Regions from separate parts of the Homo sapiens genome. Here region 1 is linked to region 2. The links are contacts of gene promoters, found by promoter capture Hi-C in human tissues and cell types (Jung and others, 2019). All regions are on one chromosome and are shown on one strand. Each heading gives the region's core, a stretch centred on a gene start or on the middle of the fragment in contact. The rest is flanking DNA. Distances are from core to core; before and after follow the strand shown. Region 1 has its middle 16 kb from the start of GAREM2. Region 2 holds the start of DRC1 (dynein regulatory complex subunit 1).

Region 1 (5,214 bases), core at 399-2,898, 240 kb after region 2:
CCCAGTCACCTACAGAGTGACTGAACAACTGATGGGAACGCCTTCATGGTCAATTGGATTATCTTTCATGTTATGGTCCTGACCTCACTAGTAAACCCAGTGTAAACTCAAAACTCACTGTGAAATCACTATTACATGACATGAGAATCTCTACTTTTTAATCAAATTACAGATTTCAATTTATTTGTATTGTCAGTGGAATCTTTTCTTCTTTTTCTTTTTTTTATTTTTTATTTTTATTTTTATTTTTATTTTTTTTGAGTCAAAGTCTTGCTCTGTCCCCCAGGCTGGAGTGCAGTGGCACAATCTCGGCTCACTGCAACCTTCACCTCCCAAGTTCAAGCGATTCTCCTGCCTCAGCCTCCCAAGTAGCTGGGATTACAGACTCGTGCCACCACGCCCGGCTAATTTTTGTATTTTTAGTAGAGACAGGGTTTCACCATGTTGGCCAGACTTGTTTCGAACTGCTGACTTCAAGTGATCCACCCACTTTGGCCTCCCCAAGAGTTGGGATTATAGGCAGGAGTCACTGCACCCGGCCAGTCAGTGGAATCTTATTAAGTCAAATTGTTACAGTAGGTAGCTAGTCAGGTATGAGCAGCGCCGGAGAGTGCTCCCCACCAACACATAGACCAGGCGTGTTGGGAGACCTGTCAGGTGATGGTCAGGTGGTTGTTAACTGTTTCTCTTTTTTTTTTTTTTTTTTTGAGACAGGGTCTTGCTCTGTCACCCAGGCTGGAGGGCAGTGGCATGATCTCGGCTCACTGCAACCTCTGCCTCCTGGGTTCAAGCGACTCTCCTGCCTCAGTCTCCCAAGTAGCTGGGACTACAGGCCCGCGCCACCAAGCCTGACTAATTTTTGCATTTTTAGTAGAGATGGTGGGGGGAGGTGTCACTATGTTGGCCAGGCTGGTCTTGAACTCCTGGCCTCAGGTGATCCGCCCTTCTCGGCCTCCCAAAGTGCTGGGATTACAGGCATGAGCCACTGTGCCCGGCCACCTGTTTCTCTAAAGTAATAATTCGTCACAGCTGGTGCCAGGGAAGGACAGTTTCCTAATAGATAGAAAATACCTGAAACTGATCAGCAGCTTCCCAGTAAGATCTCAGGAATGGGGAGAAGTTATAATGCAAGATCCCGGAAGTATGCCAATATATAAAGCCCCAAGTCCAGAGGTCAAGCTGCACACTGGTTTCTCAGGTCATCCCACTTCCCTCTTCCAAGTTGTATTTTCCTTCTTTTTTTTCCCTTTCCTTCCTTTCCTTACTGTTCTAAAGCTTTTTAATAAACTTCCACTCCTGCTCTGAAACATGCCTCTGTCTCTTCTGCCCTATGCCCCTCGGTTGAATTCTTTCTTCCAAGGAGGCAAGAATTAAGGTTGCCGCAGATCCGTACAGATTCACCGTGGGTAACTCCAGGTAACTCAGATATCTTCCATCAGTAACGAAACTGTTTAATTTACTAATGAACCATTGATTAAATTATGTAACACTATTTTTTAAAATCGAGGTAACATTCACATAAATTTACATTCACAACAAATTTAAACTTCATCATTTAAGAATTTAAAATTTAGGCTAAGCACAGTGGCTCATGCCTGTAATTTTAACACTTTGAGACAGGAGGCTGAGACAGGAAGATTGCTTGAGGCCAGGAGTTTGAGACCAGGCTTGGCAATATAGCAAGACCTTGTCTCTACAAAAAATAGAAAAATTAGCCAGGTGTGGTGGTACATACCTGTAGTCCCAGCTACTAGGGAGGCTGAGGCAGGAGGATCACTTGAGCCCAAAAGTTCGAAGTTACAGTGAGCTATGATCAAGCCACTTCACTCCAGCCTGGGCGAAAGGGAGAGACCCTATCTCTGAAAAAAAAAAAAAAAAAAAAAAAAGGACAATTCAGTGGCATTTAGTACATTTGCAATGTTGTGCAATCATCCTCACTAGTTCCAGGACATTTTCATCACCTAAAAGGAAATTCCGCGCCCATTAAGCAGTCACTCCCCATTTCAATCCTCAGCCCTCGCAACCACTGATTTGTTTCCTGTCTCTATAGATGTACCTCTTCTGGCTATTTCATATGATGGAATCATATAACAAGTGGCCTTTTGTGTCTGGCTTCACTCATTTACCATAATGTTTTCCATGTTCATCTATAATGTAGTGTGTATCAATACTATGTTACTTTTTATGACTGAATAATATTCCAAAGTATGGATATACCATATGTGTTATCCTTTCAGCAGTTGACGGACAGTTGAGTTGTTCTACCTTTTGACTATTGTGAATAGTGCTGGTAAGAACATTCTTGTACAAGTTTTTGTTTAAATACCTGTTTTCAGTTCTTCTGGGTAAATACCTAGGAGTGGAACTGCTGGGTTGTTTGGTAATTCTATGTTAGACTTACTGAGGAATCATCAAACTGTTTTCCACAGTAGTAGTTGAACAATTTCACATTCCCATCAGCAACATATGAGGGTTCCAGTTTCTCCGTATCTCCATCAACACTTGTTGTCTTCCGTTTTTTTGTTGTTGTTGTTAGACCAAGTCTTGCTCTGTTCCCCAGGCTGGAGTGCAGTGTGCGATCTTGGCTTGCTGCAAGCTCTGCCTCCCGGGTTCACACCATTCTCCTGCCTCAGCCTCCCGAGTAGCTGGGACTACAGGCGCCCGCCACCACACCTGGCTAATTTTTTTGTATTTTTAGTAGAGACGGGGTTTCACCGTGTTAGCCAGGATGGTCTCGATCTCCTGACCTCGTGATCCGCCCGCCTTGGCCTCCCAAAGTGCTGGGATTACAGGCGTGAGCCACCGCGCCCAGCCTGTCTTCTGGTTTCTAATTTACAGTTTGCCTGTTTGTTGGTTTGGCTTTGTTATAGCCGTCCTAATGGGAGTGAAGTGGTCTCTCACTGTAATTTTGATTTGCATTTCCTTAATGACCAATGATATAGAACATATTTTCATGTGCTTTTTGGCCCTTTGTCTATCTTCCTTAGAAATGTCTATTTAAAACTTTTGCCTTGTGTTTTGTTCTTTGTCTTTTTTAAATTTTTAAAATTTTTTCTTTGTCAATTTTTAAAAATTGTGGGCCGATTGCAGTGGCTCACGCTTGCAATCCCAGCACTTTGGGAGGCCAAGGTGGGCAGATCACTTGAGCTCAGGACTTCCAGACCAGCCTGGGCAACACAGCAAAACCCTGTCTCTACTAAAAATGCAAAAATTAGCCAGGCATGGTGGCAGGCACCTGTAATCCCAGATACTTGGGAGGCTGAGGCAGGAGAATCCCTTGAACTCAGGAGGCAGAGATTGCAGTGAGCCGAGATCGTGCCACTGCACTCCAGCCTGGGCAACAGAGCAAACTCTGTCTCAAATAAATAAATAAATAATAAAATAAAAAAATATGGTAAAAAGTACAAAATTTTAACCTGATAATTTATTTATGTATTTAAATTTTATTTTAGTGGGGACAGGGTCTTGCTCTGTCACCCAGGTTGGAGTACAGTGGCGTGATCATGGCTCACTGAAGCCTCGGCCTCCTGGGGTCAAGCAATCCTCCTGCCTTAGCCTCCCGTACAGGCATGTGCCACCACACCTAGCTAATCTTTTCTTTTTCTTTTTCTTTCTTTCTTTTTTTCTTTTGTAGAGACAGAGTCTCACTGTGTTGCCCAGGCTGATCTCTAACTCCTGGCTCAAGCAATCCTCCCACCTCAGCCTCCCAAAGTGCTGGGATTATAGGCATGAGCCACTGTGCCCAGCCTACCCTCTTAATTTTTAAGTGTACAGTACAGTATTGTTAATTAAATGCATATTGTTGTACAATAGATATCTAGAACTTTTCCATCTTGTATGACTGAAACTCTGTGCCCATGAACAACTCCCCATTCCCTTCCCCCCAGCCCCTGGCCACCATTCTGCTTTTGATTTTGACTTTCATTACATTAGATGCCTCATATAAGTGGAATCATGCAATATTTGTCTTTTTTTTTTTTTTTTTTTTTTTTTGAGACGGAGTTTGACTCTTGTTGCCCAGGCTGGAGTGCAATGGTGCGATCTTGGCTCACCAAAACCTCCTCCTCCCAGGTTCAAGCAATTCTCCTGTCTCAGCCTCCCAAGTAACTGGGATTACAGGCATGTGCCACCACACCCAACCAATTTTGTATTTTTAGTAGAGACGGGGTTTCACCATGTTGGCCAGGCTAGTCTTGAACTCCTGACCTCAGGTGATCTGCCCACCTCAGCCTCCCAAAGTGCAGGGATTACAGGTATAAGCCACCACGCCTGGCTATTTGTCTTTTTGTGATTGGCTTATTTCATCTAGCATACTGTCCTCAAGGTATGTCATCCATGTGGTAGCATGTGACAGGATTTCTTTCTATTTTGAGGCTGAATAATATTCCATTGTAATGTACATAACACATTTTTTAAATCCATTCCTTCATTGATAGACATTTAGGTTGTTTCCACATATCAGCTATTGTGAATAATGTTGCAGTGAACATAGATGTGCAAATATCTGCTGTTTACAATCCTTTTGGCTATATATCCAGAATTTGGATTGCTGGATCATATGGTAATTCTATTTTTAATTTTTTGAGAAACCGCTGTACTGTTTTCCATAGCAAATGCACCATTTAGAATCCCACAAACAACGCGCAAGGATTCCTATTACTCCACATGCTCTCCAACACTTATTATTTTCTGTTTTTTTTTTCCTTTTTTATAGTGAGCCTCTTAATGGATGAGGTGGTATCTCATTGTGGTTCTGATTTGCATTTCCCTGATGATTAGTGATGTTGAGCATCTTTTCTTGTGTTTGTTGACCATCTGTATGTTTTCTGTGGAGAAATGTCTATTCAAGTCTGTTGCCCAATTTAAAATAAGATTATTTAGTTTTGTACTATTGAGTTACAGGAGCTCTTTATATATTCTGGATATTATTCCCTTATCTGATATATGGTTTACAAATATTTTCCTCCCATTCTGTAGGTTGCTTTTTCACTCTTTTGATTGTTTGCTGTGTGAAAGTTTTTAAGTTTGATGTAGTTCAATTTGTCCTATTTTGCTTTTGTTATCTGTGCTTTTGGTGTCATATCCAAGAAAGCATTGCCAAGTCCAATGTCACGAAGATTTTTCCCCTATGTTTTCTTCTAGGAGTTTTATAATTTTAGGTCTATATTTAGGCCTTTATTCTGGATTAATTTTTGTATATAGTATACGATAAGG
Region 2 (4,996 bases), core at 1,270-3,769:
ATTTGTACAGCCTCAGGCACAGTATGTGTGGCTACTGATTGGGCCAAATGCATGCTTTTCTACCTCAATCAGGAAAAATAATCAGGAAGTTCACATTTACATGGAACAGACAATGATATACACTCACAAGTCGGTCACACTCACAGGACCATGGTAGTTCTCCTGATCTCTGTCATAATATATTCTGAATATATCAGGGACATCTGGATATCCCAGAGAACATCACAATGATCCATTACTTCAGCACTGGCAAACTATGGCCTGTGGGACAGATCCAGTCCACCACCTGTTTTTGTATGGCTTCCAGGCAAATAATGATTTTTACAATTTTTTTTTTTTGAGACAGAGTCTCGCTCTGTCGCCCAGGCTGGAGTGCAATGGCACGATCTCAGCTCACTGCAACCTCCGCCTCCTGGGTTCAAGCGATTCTCCTGCCTCAGTCTCCTGAGTAGCTGGGATTACAGGCGCGCGCCACCATGCCTGGCTAATTTTTGTATTTTTAATAGAGACAGGGTTTCACCATGTCGGTCAGGCTGGTCTCAAACTCCTGACCTCGTGATCCCGCCCGCCTCAGCCTCCCAAAGTTTTGGGATTACAGGCATGAGCCACTGCGCCCGGCCCAATTTTTTTTTTTTTTTTTTTTGAGATGGAGTTTTGTGCTTGTCACCCAGGCTGGAGTGCAGTGGCGCTATCTCAGCTCACTGCAACCTCTGCCTCCCAGGTTCGAGCAATTCTCCTGCCTCAGCCTCCCAAGTAGCTGAGATTACAGGTGCCTGCCACCACACCTGGCTAATTTTTGTATTTTTAGTACAGACAGGGTTTCGCCATGTTGGCCAGGCTGGTCTTGAACTCCTGACCTCAGGTGATCCTCCTGCCTTGGCCTCCCAAAGTGCTGGGATTACAGGCATGAGCTACGATTTTTTACAATTTTAAATGGTTTTTACAATTTTAAATGATTTTTACAATTCTAAATGGTTAATAAATAAATGGTTAAAAAAAGACTAGGATGAATAAGCAGAGCACAGGGGATTTTTAGGGCAGTAAAAATATTTGGTATAATACTATACTGGTGGGCTCGTGTCACCATAAATTTATCCAAACCCATAGGATGTACAACACCAAAAAGAAACCCTAAGGTAAACAATGGAGTTCAAGTGATAACGATGCGCCAAGGTTCATATATTGTTACAAATGTGCCCTCCAGTGCAGGATGTTGACAGTAGCTGTGCATGTGTGGGGGCAGGGAGTATATGCGAATGCTATACTTTTTGATCAGTTTTGCTGTGGTCCTAAAAACTGCTCTAAAAAATAAAGTTTATTATTATTTTTTATCAAAAGAAGGCTATTTTGTGATACATGAACAGTATATGAAATTCAAATTTCAGTGTCCATAAATAAAGCTTTATTGGAACACAGTCATGCCCATTTGTTTATGTCTTGCCTGTGGCTGCTTTTGCAATACAATGGCAATTGAGCAGCTAGGAAAGAGGCCATATGATCCGAAAAGCCTAAAATATTTACTATTTGGCCCTTTACTGAAAGGGTTTGCCGGCCCCTGCATTCCACTGATGGCCCCGCAGCAATCAGCCAGGGTGAGCGAGTGATGGAAACACACTGCAGGGCTTGGTAAGACATGTGTGCTCCAGACGGTGGGCAATCAACCCTATGAAGGCCCAGGGACTGCCATGTCATTCAAGTTTGTAGGGGTCCAGTGGTCAGTGGGATGCTGGGATAGCCTATCAAGTAAAAAACAAATCTACTGCATTTTGCATCCTCTACAGAGAAGGAAACTCAATGCCTCTTAGGCCACTTTGGGTCCTAGAGACAATACATCCCGCACTTAGGAATATTATTCAGGCTGACACAAAAAGCTGCCAGCTTTGAGTGGTGCCTGGAACAAGAAAGGACCCAGGCCACAGTGTAAGCAGCCAGGCTACTTGGGCCACATGATCCAGCAGACCCTGTGGTTTGGAGGTGTCCGTAGTGGAAAAGATGCCATGTGCAGACCACAGTCGAACGCCACCACGCCCGATTAATTGTTTGATGTTTTATAGAGATGGGGTCTCTCTATGCTGCCCAGGTTGACCATCTCCAACTCCTGGGCTCCAGTGATCGGCCCGCCTCGGCCTCCCTAAGTGCTGGGATGACAGGCGCGCGCCACGGCACCGGCCCAGCGTTTTACTTTCCCATACTCTGCCTGAACCTTCCCGAAGAAATGTTTCTATTTCATCAGGAAACCAGCCCTTCTCCGGCTCCTGCGGCGCGGATCCCGCCCCGCCCGCCCCCGCGCTCACCGCCTCCGGGCTTCTAAGCGCGCAGCGATGCGGAGGCGCCGGGCCTGGATGCGCTCCTGAGAGTTGTCGGAGTGGACCGAGGGCGCGAGAATCTGGGTGGACAAGTGCTCGTCCACGTTCGGGTCCAGGGCCTCTAGGGACCCCGGCGGATTCATGGCAGGAGTCCCTGGTCCCTAGGCGGCTCCCTCCGCACCACCTCCAGACCTCAGGCTGGTTGCTAGGAACAAACCGTTGCCAGGGAGAGCGGTCACCGGAGCCACAGCCCGAGTGGTTGCGCGCGCAGCTCCCTGGGCCCAGCCTGCCGCCAGCCGCCGTTCCGGCCGAGCATCCCAGCCTCGGGCTGACGCCTCTCCCGCCCGTGGGATGTCAGGTCTGTTGTCAGGCCCACGAAGGCCCGGTCGTGTTAGCGGAGCTGTGGAGTCTCACCAGGAGACTAGAGGACTAAAGAACTGGACCAAGTTGTGGTTCATCACTTGCTGACCCTGATGATTAATTCATCTTCCATTCATTCATCAAATATTCCTCCAACTCATATTCACCAAATAAAATTGAGCGCCTACTCGATGCCAAGCGCTGTGCTTGGATACAGGATACCAACCTGCAATCAAATACTTATGAAAGAGGAAAAGTGGAATAGAGGAAAACAGTCCGTGGGAGGGGGGAGGGATAAAAGTTAGAAATGCGGAAGCACTATTAAATTCTCAACTGTCCCCAGAAAGGCGCTATCTTCTGGGCGTCTCATTGTCAACAAAAATAGTGTTCTCATTGAGAATTAAAACCTGGCGCGCTGGCTCATGCCTCAGCCTCCCAACACTTTGGGAGGCCGAGGTGGACAGATCACTTGAGGTCAGGAGTTTGAGACCAGCCTGGTGAACATGATGAAACCCCGTCTCTACTAAAAATACAAAAATTAGCTGGGTATGGTGGTGGGCACCCATAATCCCAGCTACTCGGGAAGCTGAGGCAGGAGAATCGCTTGAATCTGGGAGGTGGATGTTGCAGTGAGCCGAGATCGAGCCACTGCACTCCATCCTGAGCAATAGAGCAAGACTCTGTCTCAAAAAAACCCAACCAACCAACCAAACAAAAACTGGATACCATTTAACAGGGTTCTGTCCCATTAGCCCGTGGGGAATTAAGGGCACTGGATGAGCAGTGAGAAAGGGTGAGTACTAGTCCTAGCCCTGCCCTGCCACCTTGGGCAAGTCACAACTTCTTGAGGAGCATTTTCTCAGCTGTTAAATGATGCAACCCACAGACAACTGTGCGGCCAAGACGACCCGTCCTTTGTGAGTAAGAACTGCCCAGAGGCAAATGGAGTGGGTTTTTAAAATCAGTTCTTCCACGTTTGCAAGCAGTAGAGAGGTTTAGGAATGCCAAAACCATCCAACAGCTATAGAGTCTAACAGCAGCTGCCTGGATCCTTGTCTCACACCTGCCTAGGTGGTGGTGGTAGGAGCGGGGGTACTTGCTTCTAGGCTTCAGGGCCTTCTGCCAGATCTCTGTCTCCTTTGGTTGAAACCTAAAGTATTAAACTCTCCTAGGAGCCATGATACAGCTCTGACCAAAAACTCGTCCAGGTCCTGGTTCATGTTTCCACTATCCGTAAGGACAGAAACAAGCATGTGTGCATGCGCATGTCTATGCCTGGGAGTGGGATACCATGAGAAAGTCAGGGGGAATCAGCTGTTGCACAAGAGGTAAGTGAGAGCAAAGGTACCATACAAACCCATGAAGAGTGACCAGTGAGATACTTGGCCCTGCACTGTTCTGATACCACTTCCAACATCTTTTTATATAAGAAATCTGACTCCATTTTTTGCTGCTGACATTTGGCTGCTGGCAGCTTTTACGCAGCACTCCCTCTTTCTTCTCCACATCTGGGCAAGCTGTTAAAAAAAGCCTAGGTGCTCTTTTTGGTGCTGGCAGATTTCATCTGCGTGCACAGGATACCCTCCTCCCAGCCTCACCCCTTAACCACAATAAAAGCCCCAAGCTTGTCTCCTTTCCTGGCTCTCTCTAGCCATTTTCTGACCAGCTGGGAGGCCCTCTTTGCTCCCACAGGCAGCCTCAATTATGTAATAAACCTTTTTCACTGGTGTGGGAAACACTTTCACTCACCGCTGGAAAGGGACCTCCTAGGAGGACAGTTTGCCAAAATCTATTAACTGTTTAAATTGGCATACTAGGGTAAAGGGTGGAATAGGGAGAGATTTGTTAAAGGATACAAAATGACAGGTTCTAGTGTTCTGCACCACTGGAGGGTGACTATAGTCAATAACATAGTTTCAAATAGCAACGAGGATATTGAGCATTCCCAACACAAAGAAATGACAAATGTTTGAGCTGATAGGCATGCTAATTACCAGACCTGATCACTATACATTATATGGATTGAAATATTACTATGTACCCCATAAACATATATAACTATTATTTCCTTTTTTTTTTTTTTTTTTTTTTTGAGACAGCGTCTTGCTCAATTGCCCAGGCTGGAGTGCAGTGGCATAGTCTTGGCTCACTGCAACCTCTACCTCCTGGGTTCGAGCGATCCTCCTTCCTCAACTTCCCAAGTAGCTGGGACTACAGGCGTGTGCCACCATGCCCAGCTAATGTTTATTGTATTTTTAGTAGAGACAGGGTTTTACCATGTTGGCCAGGGTGATCTCAGACTCCTGACCTCAGGCGATCCACCCGCCTCG

Evidence for each region. The method cuts DNA at HindIII sites, captures the fragments that hold promoters and counts their contacts. A contact is called where the count stands out against the background at its distance.
Region 1: a fragment that was not itself captured here is called in contact with the fragment with the promoter of DRC1 in region 2 in 1 of the 25 tissues and cell types used here (spleen).

The regions. Positions count from the first base shown.
Region 1 is chr2:26,154,497-26,159,710 of GRCh38, reverse strand. No RefSeq gene overlaps it. Among named protein-coding and RNA genes, the nearest start is that of GAREM2, 16 kb to the left of the region's middle. The HindIII fragment of the contact is 4,116 bases long and covers 1-3,706 here.
Region 2 is chr2:26,399,443-26,404,438 of GRCh38, reverse strand. DRC1 (dynein regulatory complex subunit 1) reads right to left here and starts at 2,519. Exons shown (of 17, transcript NM_145038.5): 1 at 2,295-2,519. The coding sequence starts at 2,449. The HindIII fragment of the contact is 4,401 bases long and covers 694-4,996 here.